Regions from separate parts of the Homo sapiens genome. Here regions 1, 2 and 3 are each linked to region 4. The links are contacts of gene promoters, found by promoter capture Hi-C in blood cells and fetal thymus (Javierre and others, 2016). All regions are on one chromosome and are shown on one strand. Each heading gives the region's core, a stretch centred on a gene start or on the middle of the fragment in contact. The rest is flanking DNA. Distances are from core to core; before and after follow the strand shown.

Region 1 (2,931 bases), core at 258-2,757, 590 kb after region 4:
ACAGGAGAGTCAAAGGTCTCTAGCGATGAGATTGTGCCTGATATCTCCCTCTTCTGTTTCCCTAATTGTGACTACCGGGTCCAGTCAATTTACATTCCTCTTAAAGTTTTGAAATTATGCTTGAAATTCCATTTGGGGAGCTTTAGATGTCCGGCCCCAAGGCACATTCTTTCAAATAAAGAAAATGATCCCGAAGTGATTCAAAACCCTGTCTGGTGACTAACAGGAGGAGTAAAGCTGGAAAGTAATGGGACTGTTTCCCCCATGTAGTTCCTGAACTGCCCCTGGCAACACTTCCTGAAGAAGCGCATCCATCACGCTTTTAGCAGTGCCACAGCAGAACACTGGGCAGCCTCCCAATGCGTCTACCCCTGAACAGTGTTCTGGATATGTGTGCAATGTTGGTTGAAAACCCCTTTCTTGTCACTTGCTAATCAGAGCACCTATGTCAAAGTATATATGCATATTTCTTTTTTGAGATGGAGTCTCACTCTGTAGCCCAAGCTGGAGTGCAATGGCATGATCTCGGCTCACTGCAACCTCCGCCTTTGGGGCTCAAGTGATTCTCGTTCCCCAGCCTCCGGCACAGCTGGGACTACAGGCACTGCCACCACACCCAGCTAATTTTTTGTATTTTATTAGAGTTGAGGTTTCACCATGTTGCCCAGGGTGGTCTTGAACTCCTGAGCTCAGGTGATCCACCTGCCTTGGCCTCCCCAGGTGTTGGGATTACAGGCATGAGCCACTGCGCCCGGCCAACAAGGTATATTCAGAAAAATTTCCCATTACAGAATTCTTCATTACATGCACAAGAAAGGCAACGCTAAAAAATGACATGTTTCAGAGATAAAAATCAGCATCTTATGACAGAAAGACCAGAGTTGCACAGAACCTGAACTAGAGAAAAGAAAACATGCAAGGCAGTCTTGGAGGTTTTATTCCAACACTTAGTGGTTTGCAAAAATTTTTGTCTGTCCTGTACAACTCTATGAGCTGCTATCCTATTCAAGGCCTATGTATCCCACTATATCAAGTGATAATCAAACGTATTCCCAAGCAGACTACGTGGGAGGGCTTGTCTAACACTCGTGTGATTCACGTTTCACATGTAGGTGCTTCCAAGGACTTGAGTCCCCTATTGGGGTCAGGATAGGCTCTACTCAATGTTCTATGTACTTCTCTATGTTTTTAATTTCTTTTAAAAACTGAAGTTTTTTTAGACCGTTTTGTCCAGATTTGATCCAGTGTTATCTACTCAAAATAAGCATCAAGAGCTACTATCACCTCAAATGACGATGAGTTCTTAGATTTTCACCCAATGTGAGTACATCCATACTTAGAGATAAAACAAGAGCTCTTTAGTGAGATAATGAGTGTGTCACAAGCAACCATTAGTCAAAACAAAATTCTACTTAATTGGCCAAAAGGTAAACGAAAAGGGTCACCTGCACCCGGCCAGGGTATATAAAGGGCCCAGAGGGGGAGGAGGACATTCACACCTGAGAACATCCAGCTCCTCTCCACAGCCCAACCCACACCAGCCTCAGACACCACCATGACCGGCTCCTGCTGCGGCTCCACCTTCTCCTCCCTGAGCTACGGGGGAGGCTGCTGCCAGCCCTGCTGCTGCCGCGACCCCTGCTGCTGCCGCCCCGTGACCTGCCAGACCACCGTGTGCCGCCCCGTGACCTGCGTGCCCCGCTGCACGCGCCCCATCTGCGAGCCCTGCCGCCGCCCGGTGTGCTGCGACCCCTGCTCCCTGCAGGAAGGCTGCTGCCGCCCCATCACCTGCTGCCCCTCGTCGTGCACGGCTGTGGTGTGCAGGCCCTGCTGCTGGGCCACCACCTGCTGCCAGCCTGTGTCTGTGCAGTCCCCCTGCTGCCGGCCCCCCTGCGGCCAGCCGACCCCTTGCAGCACCACCTGCAGGACCTCCTCCTGCTGAGCCACCACCTGCTGCCAGCCTGTGTCTGTGCAGTCCCCCTGCGGCCAGCCGACCCCTTGCAGCACCACCTGCAGGACCTCCTCCTGCTGAGCAGTGCACTGACTGCCCGGAACGCGTAACTCACCTTCTGAAAAAGTCACACTCCCATTTCTCTACTTTAACAAACCTCCTGCCCTGAGCCCACAAAACCCCACATCAACCAAGCAGGGAACCGAGCACTGGGCTCATCTATTAAGACCTGGGCCATTCTGAAGTCTGTAAAAGAAGCAATTTCCTTCTTCTTAAGATTTCGTGGCATGTTTATTTTCTAATAAATATCTGTTCTTTGGCCTTGCAAAAAGATTTGGTTTTATTTACTCATTCTAATATTTTGTATTAAATTAATTTTTTAATTAAAAAAACTGACACATAATTGTACATATTTATGGGGTGCAATGTAATGTTTCCATACATGTATACGTTGTGTAATAATCAAGTCAGGGTGTTTAGCATATTCGTCACCTCATACATTTATCATTTCTTCATGGTAAGATCATTTAAAATATTCTCTGATCGCTATTTTGAAATATATGATAAAATATTACTAACCACAGTCACCCTACTGTACATTAGAATACCAAAACTTATCCCTCCTATCTACCTGTAACTTTGTACCTGTAGACCAATCTCTGCCTATCCTCCCCTCCTCTCACCCTCCCCAGCCTCTGGTAGTCACTATTCTACTCTCTACTTCTATGAGATCAACTTCTTTAGATTTCACATAGGAGTGAGTGAATGTGCTATTTGTCTTTCTGTGCCTGGTTAATTTCACTTAACATAATGTCCCCCAGGTTCATCCATGTTGCTGCACATGACAGTATTTCATTCTTTTTCATGGCTGATAGTATTTCATTGTGTGTTTGGGTGTGAGTGTGTGTCACATTTTCTTTATCCATTCATCCATTGATGAACACTTAGATTGTTTTCATATGTTGGCTGTTGTGAATCGT
Region 2 (2,786 bases), core at 159-2,658, 670 kb after region 4:
AGACATGGAACCAACCCAAATGCCCATCAATGATGGACTGGATAAAGAAAATGTGGCACATATACACCATGGAATACTATACAGCCATAATAAAGGATTAGTTCATGTCCTTTGCAGGGACATGAATAAAGCTGGAAACCATCATTCTCAGCAAACTCACACAGGAACAGAAAACCAAACACTGCATGTTCTCACTCATAAGTGGGAGTTGAACAATGAGCACACATGGACACAGGGAGGGGAACATCACACCGGGGACTGTGAGGGGGTGAGGGGCTAGGGGTGGGATAGCATTAGGAGAAATACCTAATGTAGATGACAGGTTGATGGGTACAGCAAACCACCATGGCACTTGTATACCTATGTAGCAAACCTGCACGTTCTGCACATGTATCCCAGAACTCAAAGTACAAAAAATCTCATAATTCAAGAAAAAAAAAAAAGGATGAAAAGGGGCCACTAGCTGAGGATGTGGACAGCCTGTAGAAGCTGGAAAAGGCAAGAAAATGATGTTCCCCTAGAGCCTCCATAAAGGATTAGCAGCAAGTAACTTTCTGAAGAAAATGCTGAGTAAGTATTCCTCAGAAAGAAAACACACCCCTTTCAATGAATCCTATTTAAACATCCAGTATAAACCAACACTGTGATACATTTTTATCTAATGTAATACCACAAGCAAACACCAAGCACTAAAAATGTTATAAAATGTGGACTTTGGAAAACCAAAAGAGAGCTAGTCTCTTTTCCAAGAAATTTCTTATTAGCAATCAAACCCTACCTTTTCCCCATGGCTTTTATTTTATTTCATATTTTATTTATATTTTATTTTATGTTATTACATTTTATGGAAAGCTAAAACATAAATCTAGCAATTATCTTTAAAACAAGACTTTTAAAAGACTAACATTTTAATTCATACTCACATTGTCCTGACACTGAAAATGGGGAAACCATTTGGGCAGAACAAACTAAAATATTGACTTCTGATTTCTAAGTTTACCAATAATTATTAAACATTAATAGTTTCCCTTTTCTAGAGAAGAAAGGAAAAGAAGGATGAACTCATTCCTGGTTAAGCTCAGTGCCAAGTGGAGAGGTCAACAAGAATGTAATGAACTTAGTATACTCACACCTGCTTAATAATGGATGCTGTTAGGACAGTTCCTTTTGAAGACATAATTTGAAGCTCTGGGTCCAATAGACAAGTAGTAGTTATGATGGGTAATAACTTACTAACAGCCTAAATGCACATGTTTATGAGACAAATAACTCTTCTTAAGCAAGTAAAAAGCAGACTAATAAGATGTTCCTACAGGATTTGATATAAACCTGAGAAAGGAAAACATCCCACCTGTGTGACACCACGTAGAAGAGAGGCTATATAAGCACTTCAAAGAGGAAAACACCAAGAGCCTTGGAATTCAGACTCTGTGGAGGTGGCTTGAGCTTTTCATCCTGGTGACCACAGACCTGGAACAAACTAAAGCCAGACACATACTATGGACACCAAGGGCTGTACAACAACCAATTCTCCTTCAACCCCATGTCAAAACTGCTCTAGGATTACAAATGTTAGTACCATCTCTTCTAACAACGGCTGCCATCCTGGTGGCCTTACAGTCAACAACTGTCAACCAGCTGGCCACGTTCTCAGAATTCCCTGGGACCAGGGCTGCCAACCCACTCCTCGCTTTTGTCGCAAGCCCATCTACCTAATGAACAACTTCAATGCCCGTTTTTCTCTGGATGACTGCAGCTGGTATGGTGAAGGCATCAACAGTAATGAGAAGGAGACCATGCAAATCTTGAACGAGCGCCTTGCTAACTACCTGCAAAAGGTGCGAATGCTAGAACGAGAGAATGCTGAACTGGAATCTAAAATCCAGGAAGAAAGTAACAAAGAGCTCCCTGTTCTATGTCCTGATTACCTGTCTTACTACACTACCATTGAGGAGCTCCAGCAGAAGGTAAGATTCCTAAGAACCTGTTTAATCGTGTTGTGAATTAATGGTTTCCAAGCAACAGTTATTTGCTAAACTTTAATATTTTTTGTTCAGTTGATGCTGAAAATTTTTTTGAAGAATAGAAAAATTTCTTGAGTGAAATTGTCATCTTGAGGCAGCATTCAGAGTCTGATAGTATTTCTGGTCAGGCGCAGTGATGCACACCTGTAATCCTAACACTTTGGGAGGCTGAGGCAGACAGATCACTTGAGCCCAGGAGTTCTAGACCATCCTGGGCAACATGATGAAATTCCATCCTTACACACACACACACACACACACACATACACACACAAAAAAAAATTAGATGGGCGTGGTGGCACATGCCTGTGGTCCCAGCTACTTGGGAGGCTGAGGTGGGAGGATCACTTGAGCCCAAGAGGTTGAGGCTGCCATGAGCCAAGATCCTGCCACTGCACTCCAGCCCAGACAAAAGTGAGACTATGTCTTTAAAAATCAGAAACAAAAAGAAGAGTCTCATGGTGTTTCCTTTCTCCAGAAATACACTCTACCATTATAACTAGATGACTCAGGACCAAAAGATGTTAACAGCAAGTTGTTGCCATTTTTTAAATAAAAATAGGGAAACAGAGATCAGAGAAAATAAATTTTGCTTTAATGAGTTTCTAAGCAATTTAGTTTTTATCCATTTTTCAACCATCACCACCTTTTTCTCCTTTTATGCTTATGTTATCATCTCCACATTGCTTGGTTTGTTTCTACACCAAACCTAAGTTTGTTATGCACAGACGTATTCTGCTACTACATATCTGGATTTATTCA
Region 3 (3,112 bases), core at 269-2,768, 600 kb after region 4:
TTTTCTCCACTTCCTCTCCAACACTTGCTATCTTTTGTCTTTTTGATAATAACTATCTAATATGTGTGAGACGATATCTCATTGTGGTTTCAATTTGCATTATCCGATGATTGGTGATTTTGAAAATTTTTCATATACCTGTTGGCAATTTGTAGATTTTTTTTGAGAAATGTCTATTTAGATTTTTTGCCCATTTTTCAATTACGTTATTTGTTTTCTTACTACAGGTATTGAGTTGTTTGAGTTTCCTCTATACTTTGGATATTAACCCTTTATCAGATATGTGGTTTATAAATATTTTCTCCCATTCAGCGGTTTGCGTCTTCACTCAGTTTAGTGTTTTATTGGCTGTGCAGAAGCTTTTTAGTTTGATGTAATCCCACTTGTCTATTTTTGCTGATGCTTTTGGATTCATGTTCACAATATCACAATATTGGCCAGGCAAAAGTCATGGAGTTTCCTCTGTTTTCTTCTTATAGTTTTATCATTTTGAGTCTTTCTTACATTTCAGTCTTTTAATCCATTCTAAGTTGGTTTTTGTATATAATGTGAGACAATGGTCTAATTTCATTTCTTCTGAATGTGAATGTGGTCAAATGATTTTCAACAAGGGTGACAAGACTATTTACAAATGGTTAAGATGGTTAATGTAAATGGTTCATAAATTTTATGGTATGTATATTTTACCACAATTAAAAATTTGTAACTATAAACATGTGTAGGAGACCCAAACTTTTCTGAAATAGAAGATATATATGTATATATGCTGGTTTATATTTGCAGAAGCAAGGATAAAGGTGTCAAAGAATGTGCACCAAATTCTTAATATTGATTACCTCTAGAGCATTAGTTTTGGAAGAGATGTGTGCATCTTCCAGGAAGGGAAAAGACACTAATTTTTCTTTATATACCTCTGTACTCTTTGACTTGTTACAATGTGTACTCATTACTAGCACATATGTTTAATTTAATAGAGTCAGAAAACAATCTACAAGCAAAAGTCATTAAAGATTTTAGTTAGCAATTTGTACATTCACTATTACTGAAGGCAAGAATATTAGATAGAGCTCTGAGGATCCTATAACTTGCACAAATTGATCATAGAAAGGCATACTTGGTTTGAAAGTTGATACATCAGGTTGTAGTTCATGTTTTGATGACACTAATGTTAGTCTTTCCAAGTCTGGACAAATTGTTTATAAAATCATGATCATAGTTAAGTGACCATTTAAGGAAAAATGATCAGTTAAGATAAATTCTGCCTAAAGGTTATCAAAGGACAACTATGACAAAACGTGCCAGGGCGACACTTGGCTCAAGGCTAGTCTGTCATGTGACTTGCATAAAGAGGCACTTCGGTGCTTGGCTTCCATGATGAGCCTTCACTTCGCCCAGAGGGCAAAGAAGAAACATAATGAGACTTAATTGTACAATGGAAAAAGGCTATTGAAATGCTATTTATAACTTTATAAACACCTCAGGTATTAGCCAGAGACTCACACTGAAATTGACATCAAGAAAAGGTGTTGGGTAAATATGCAGCTCTAGGGAACATATCAAAGGACAGATATAGAAGGTACAGCCCAAACTCAGAAACCTCTCTTAACACAGCTCTCAACCCAACTCCTGACACCATGGCCAGCTGTTCCACCAGTGGGACCTGTGGCTCCAGCTGCTGCCAGCCAAGCTGCTGTGAAACTAGCTGCTGCCAGCCAAGCTGCTGCCAGACCAGCTCCTGCGGAACCGGCTGTGGCATTGGTGGTGGCATTGGCTATGGCCAGGAGGGCAGCGGTGGATCTGTGAGCACCCGTATCAGGTGGTGCCACCCAGATTGCCACGTGGAGGGCACCTGCCTGCCCCCCTGCTACCTGGTAAGCTGCACACCCCCATCCTGCTGCCAGCTGCACCACGCCGAGGCCTCCTGCTGCCGCCCGTCCTACTGTGGACAGTCCTGCTGCCGCCCAGCCTGCTGCTGCCACTGCTGTGAGCCCACCTGCTAAAAGCCAGGTTGCTGATCGCTTAAGAATGAAAGGGGAAGCACAGCAAAATTGTGCTGATTTCTGAAGAACTGTTCGATTTTACTTGGATGCTAAGTACCATGATGTTGTTAAGCTGCTCAGAGATAATGAAACTCCTAGTTAGGACACTGTGGATGTGCCGAATTCACTTACTGAAAGATGTATCAATCAGTGTTCTGGATAGCTTGCGTTGCTTGAGCAGAGGACCAGGATGGAATAGTTCATCATTTCAGTGACATCTCTGCTCCCCCAACTCTCTCTTGATGCTCATGCATCTTCAGACCTGGTTTTTCCTTGAATATCTCTGATTAATCCAAATAAAATGTTTTAATGTGCAAAGCAAACTGAGTTATGTCCTCCTTCTACCTTTAAACATGTCTTCTTGTAGCTGGTATTCAAGAGTGGATTTGCAATTTGATAATAATACCAAGGCATAACCATAAAGTCTAAACCAGAAAGATTAAATACAAAGTAAATTATGCTTGAATCCATCAGCTTAAAAATGCTCCATGAATTAAAGAATTTTTATAGTTCAAATATTTACATGCTCTAATCTATTATGATTAGGTCTAGACCAATAAAGGTTGACCTTTAGCTAAAATGTTAAGGTTGATCAAAGCTATTGATTTCTATCTAAATGTAATTCTACCATCTTTTGTCTCCTTCCATTTAATATACTAAATGTTCTCCTTCATTTATGCCCCAAAATCTAAAGAAATTGCATTACCTTCTAAATAGATTTAAAAATAGCTACTAGATACTACCTATTTTCCAAGAGAATTTAGGTTTAATTTCTACACCTTAGCCTTTCACATTCTTCCCACTGATCCTTGAATTGCTCTCTAAGCTTCAACTCCCACTATTCACCTTCATTTGATGTACGTATGCATAAGGTGTATCTTTGGTCTAAATGATAGTAGAAGAAACAGCTATAGAGAGCACCCGCTGAGTTCTACCATTGCCATTTGTCAGACAGAAGTGTTAGAAATCTGAAACAGCTCGATTATATTTTGCACTTTGCAACCCAACTTAAAAGATATTCTCTTAAGAAGTTAACACGCTGGACACGGTGGCTTACGCCTGTAATCCCAGCA
Region 4 (3,142 bases), core at 214-2,713:
AGCCTGCGGATCATGCTGCTCTTTTGCAGGGGCCGTTCCTCGGGGCATGACGCTGGCTCCTGCACAGATCCTGCTCCTCTGTGGCCTTCCTGGGCTGCCCTCCCCTCCTCCGGGACTGCTCTGGACTGACATTGCTCAGGTTCGGGTGAGGAGGGAGGCTGCCCTAACCCTTTGGCCTCAGACCCCTGCTCCCAGCCCCACCTCTGCTTCCTGTTTTGTTAGAGCCTTACTGACGTCATTATCTCTCCAGATTCCCTCAAAGACTTTGGGAGACAAGACTTGGTCCCCCTTTTACAAACGAGGGAACGGAGGCTCTAGAACTGACTTCCTGAAAGGCTTGGATCCAAAGCTCCCTCAGTTCAGCGGCCACGTCTATTTCCCTCAGACACAGGGATCCTTGAACCTGTGGGCTGTATCTCCCCGCGGACTTGGAAGAATCCCAAGAGAGTGGGGCTCCCACAGGTCAGAGGCTAATTCTGCCTCCTCTGACTGGGAGTCTCCACCAGGGCCACGTTGTACCTGGGCAATGATGTCAGGCCCCGATCTCTCCACCCTTACCCCAGGGCCCTGGAATGCTGGGTGAGGGGCCAGGCCAGCCTCCGGCTCCTGGCCTGTGCAGCCTTGTCCTGTGCCCGTGCTGGCTCCCAGGGCTGGGTTCTCCGGGCTCCCCACAAGAATAAGCTCAGCCTCCTAACTGTGGCTGAGGATGGAGGGTCACCCTACCCCAGGGCTACAGACCAGCACCACCTTTGTTTCTTTCTTTCTTTTTTGAGACAGATTTTTACTCTTGTTGCCCAGGCTGGAGTGCAATGGTGTGATCTCGGCTCACTGCAACCTCCACCTCCCAGGTTCAAGCTATTCTCCTGCCTCAGCCTCCTGAGTAGCTGGGATTACAGGTTCGTGACACCACGCCCAGCTAATTTTTGTATTTTTAGTAGAGATGGGGTTTTGCTATGTTGGCCAGTCTGGTCTCAAACTCCTGACCTCAGGTGGTTCACCTGCCTCTGCCTCTCAAAGTGCTGGGATTACAGGCGTGAGCCACCGTGCCTGGCCACCACCTTTGTGTCTGAACAGACCGCTGAGGCCCTGGTGCTCAGGCTGGGCTCTTGCTATGGAGGGGTCCTTGGGGAGGCTCTCAATATGTCCAGCCTGAGCCCCAGGCCCTGGGTGGGTGGGAGGAGGCAAAATACACTCCTGGGGTTTTGGCCTGAACTTCAAGGGCCAGGGTCCCAGCCCCACTTCAGCCCGGCTGTAACGGGCTACCCAGGGTCTCCATCCAGACCAGACTCTTCACCCGACCCATGGACACCCTGGTTGTCACCACTACCAGCATCTGCCAGTTCTCCACCTCTGGCTCTGTCAAGGGCCTGTGGACACCTGGCGGGGGTTTCTCCTGGATGTCATCTGTCAGTGTTGGGGGTGCCTTTCGCCAGCCTCCTGGGAGTCAGCAGCTGTGGCAACATGTCGGTCACCTCCTCCTGCTTCTTGGTGGGACTTGGGGGAGGCTACAGCGGTGGCTACACCTGTAACCTGGGTGGGGGCTTTGGCTCCAGCGTTGACGTGGCGGATGCCCTGCTGCGGGGGCGGTGAAAAGACCATGCAGAACCTTACTGACCACACACACAGCACACACATACACACAAACACCACACACAACCACACACACACATACACACACACAAACACCACACACACCACACACACCATCACACACATACACACAAACACCACACACACACCACACACGTACACACACAAACACCACACACACCCCACACACATCACACACATACACACACAGAAACACCACACACACACCACACACAGCACACACGTACACACACACAAACACCACACACCATACACATCACACACTACCCCAAACGCCACGCGCCCCACTCACACCTCACACTCCCAGATTCACACACAGGCGCATGCCCACCGATCGATACACACACACTAAAAGACTCCTATATACACATTCACACATAGCTCACAGGCACATCCACATACACACATACTACATACACACACACATACCACACACCTACACATATACCCACCACACCCCCAACACCCCCTCCACACATATTAGTCACACACCCCCCCAAACCCCCCACACCCTCTCCAACACATATACACACCCACCCAAACATACCACACACCACACACACACTCATACACATCACACACTACACAAACATCACACACATACACACCACACACACCACACATACACGCGCACGTACACGCACACACACCACACACACACCACACACATCAGAGACACACAGCACACACACATCACACACATATACACACACAAACACCACACAGACCATACACATACACACATACACGCCACACACACATCACGCACACACCACATATACATCACAGACACACGCAAACACCACACACACACTCCAAACACATCACACACATACACAAACACCACACACACCACACACATACTCACCATACACACCATAGATACATCACACACACACTCACCACACACACCACACACACATACACATACACACAGACACCACACACACACCCCACACCACACATGCCACACATATTCCACACGCACCACACACATACACACTACACACACACCATACACATATATACCCACAACCACCCATGTACCACACACCACACACACCACACGCATATACACACCACACACACAATACACACAGATCTCACACACACATACACACCACACACACATATACACCACACCACATGCATACCACACACCACACACACCACATACACACATACTACATACACATAAACACCACACACATCACACACCACACACCACACACACATCACACACCACACACACACACACATACACACACACTCTCTCTCATGACCTCTAAGAACATGGCTTTGGCATTCTGTAAACATGGCCACTTTGTCTTCTGCACAAACCCTGCCCTGGAGGGTCCTACAGAGCAAAGCCACCAGTGGCAGGTGAGGAGTGCAAGTGATGAGTATGGTGGCCAGGGGGGCCAGGGGAGCCAGGGGAGGCAGGCGGGAGTCAGGTTAGGCCCAGCTGGCCCTGGTGGTTAGGCCTGCTCAGTTTCCTGGGTGGAGAGCCAGGCCTGGTGCTGCCTACGAG

The links. The method cuts DNA at HindIII sites, captures the fragments that hold promoters and counts their contacts. A CHiCAGO score of 5 or more calls a contact.
Region 1: the fragment with the promoter of KRTAP2-1 here is called in contact with a fragment that was not itself captured in region 4 in 5 of 17 cell types (total CD4 T cells, activated CD4 T cells, naive CD8 T cells and 2 more); the score reaches 9.0 in total CD4 T cells.
Region 2: a contact is called between the fragment with the promoter of KRT39 here and a fragment that was not itself captured in region 4, in 1 of 17 cell types (non-activated CD4 T cells). The highest score is 7.3, in non-activated CD4 T cells.
Region 3: a contact is called between the fragment with the promoter of KRTAP1-4 here and a fragment that was not itself captured in region 4, in 5 of 17 cell types (total B cells, non-activated CD4 T cells, total CD4 T cells and 2 more). The highest score is 6.1, in total B cells.

What each region holds. Positions count from the first base shown.
Region 1 is chr17:41,045,892-41,048,822 of GRCh38, reverse strand. It overlaps KRTAP2-1 (keratin associated protein 2-1), which reads left to right and starts at 1,507. Exons shown (of 1, transcript NM_001123387.1): 1 at 1,507-2,282. The coding sequence starts at 1,556. The coding sequence ends at 1,942. The HindIII fragment of the contact is 11,978 bases long and covers 1-2,931 here.
Region 2 is chr17:40,965,570-40,968,355 of GRCh38, reverse strand. KRT39 (keratin 39) reads left to right here and starts at 1,408. Exons shown (of 7, transcript NM_213656.4): 1 at 1,408-1,967. The coding sequence starts at 1,500. All of the region lies in intron 1 of LOC107985072 (a long non-coding RNA gene), which reads right to left. The HindIII fragment of the contact is 5,044 bases long and covers 1-2,786 here.
Region 3 is chr17:41,028,601-41,031,712 of GRCh38, reverse strand. It overlaps KRTAP1-4 (keratin associated protein 1-4), which reads left to right and starts at 1,518. Exons shown (of 1, transcript NM_001257305.2): 1 at 1,518-2,362. The coding sequence starts at 1,635. The coding sequence ends at 2,000. RefSeq lists an enhancer at 1,879-2,428. The HindIII fragment of the contact is 2,506 bases long and covers 362-2,867 here.
Region 4 is chr17:41,632,290-41,635,431 of GRCh38, reverse strand. It overlaps the pseudogene KRT42P. Among named protein-coding and RNA genes, the nearest start is that of KRT17, 9.3 kb to the right of the region's middle. The HindIII fragment of the contact is 4,882 bases long and covers 1-3,142 here.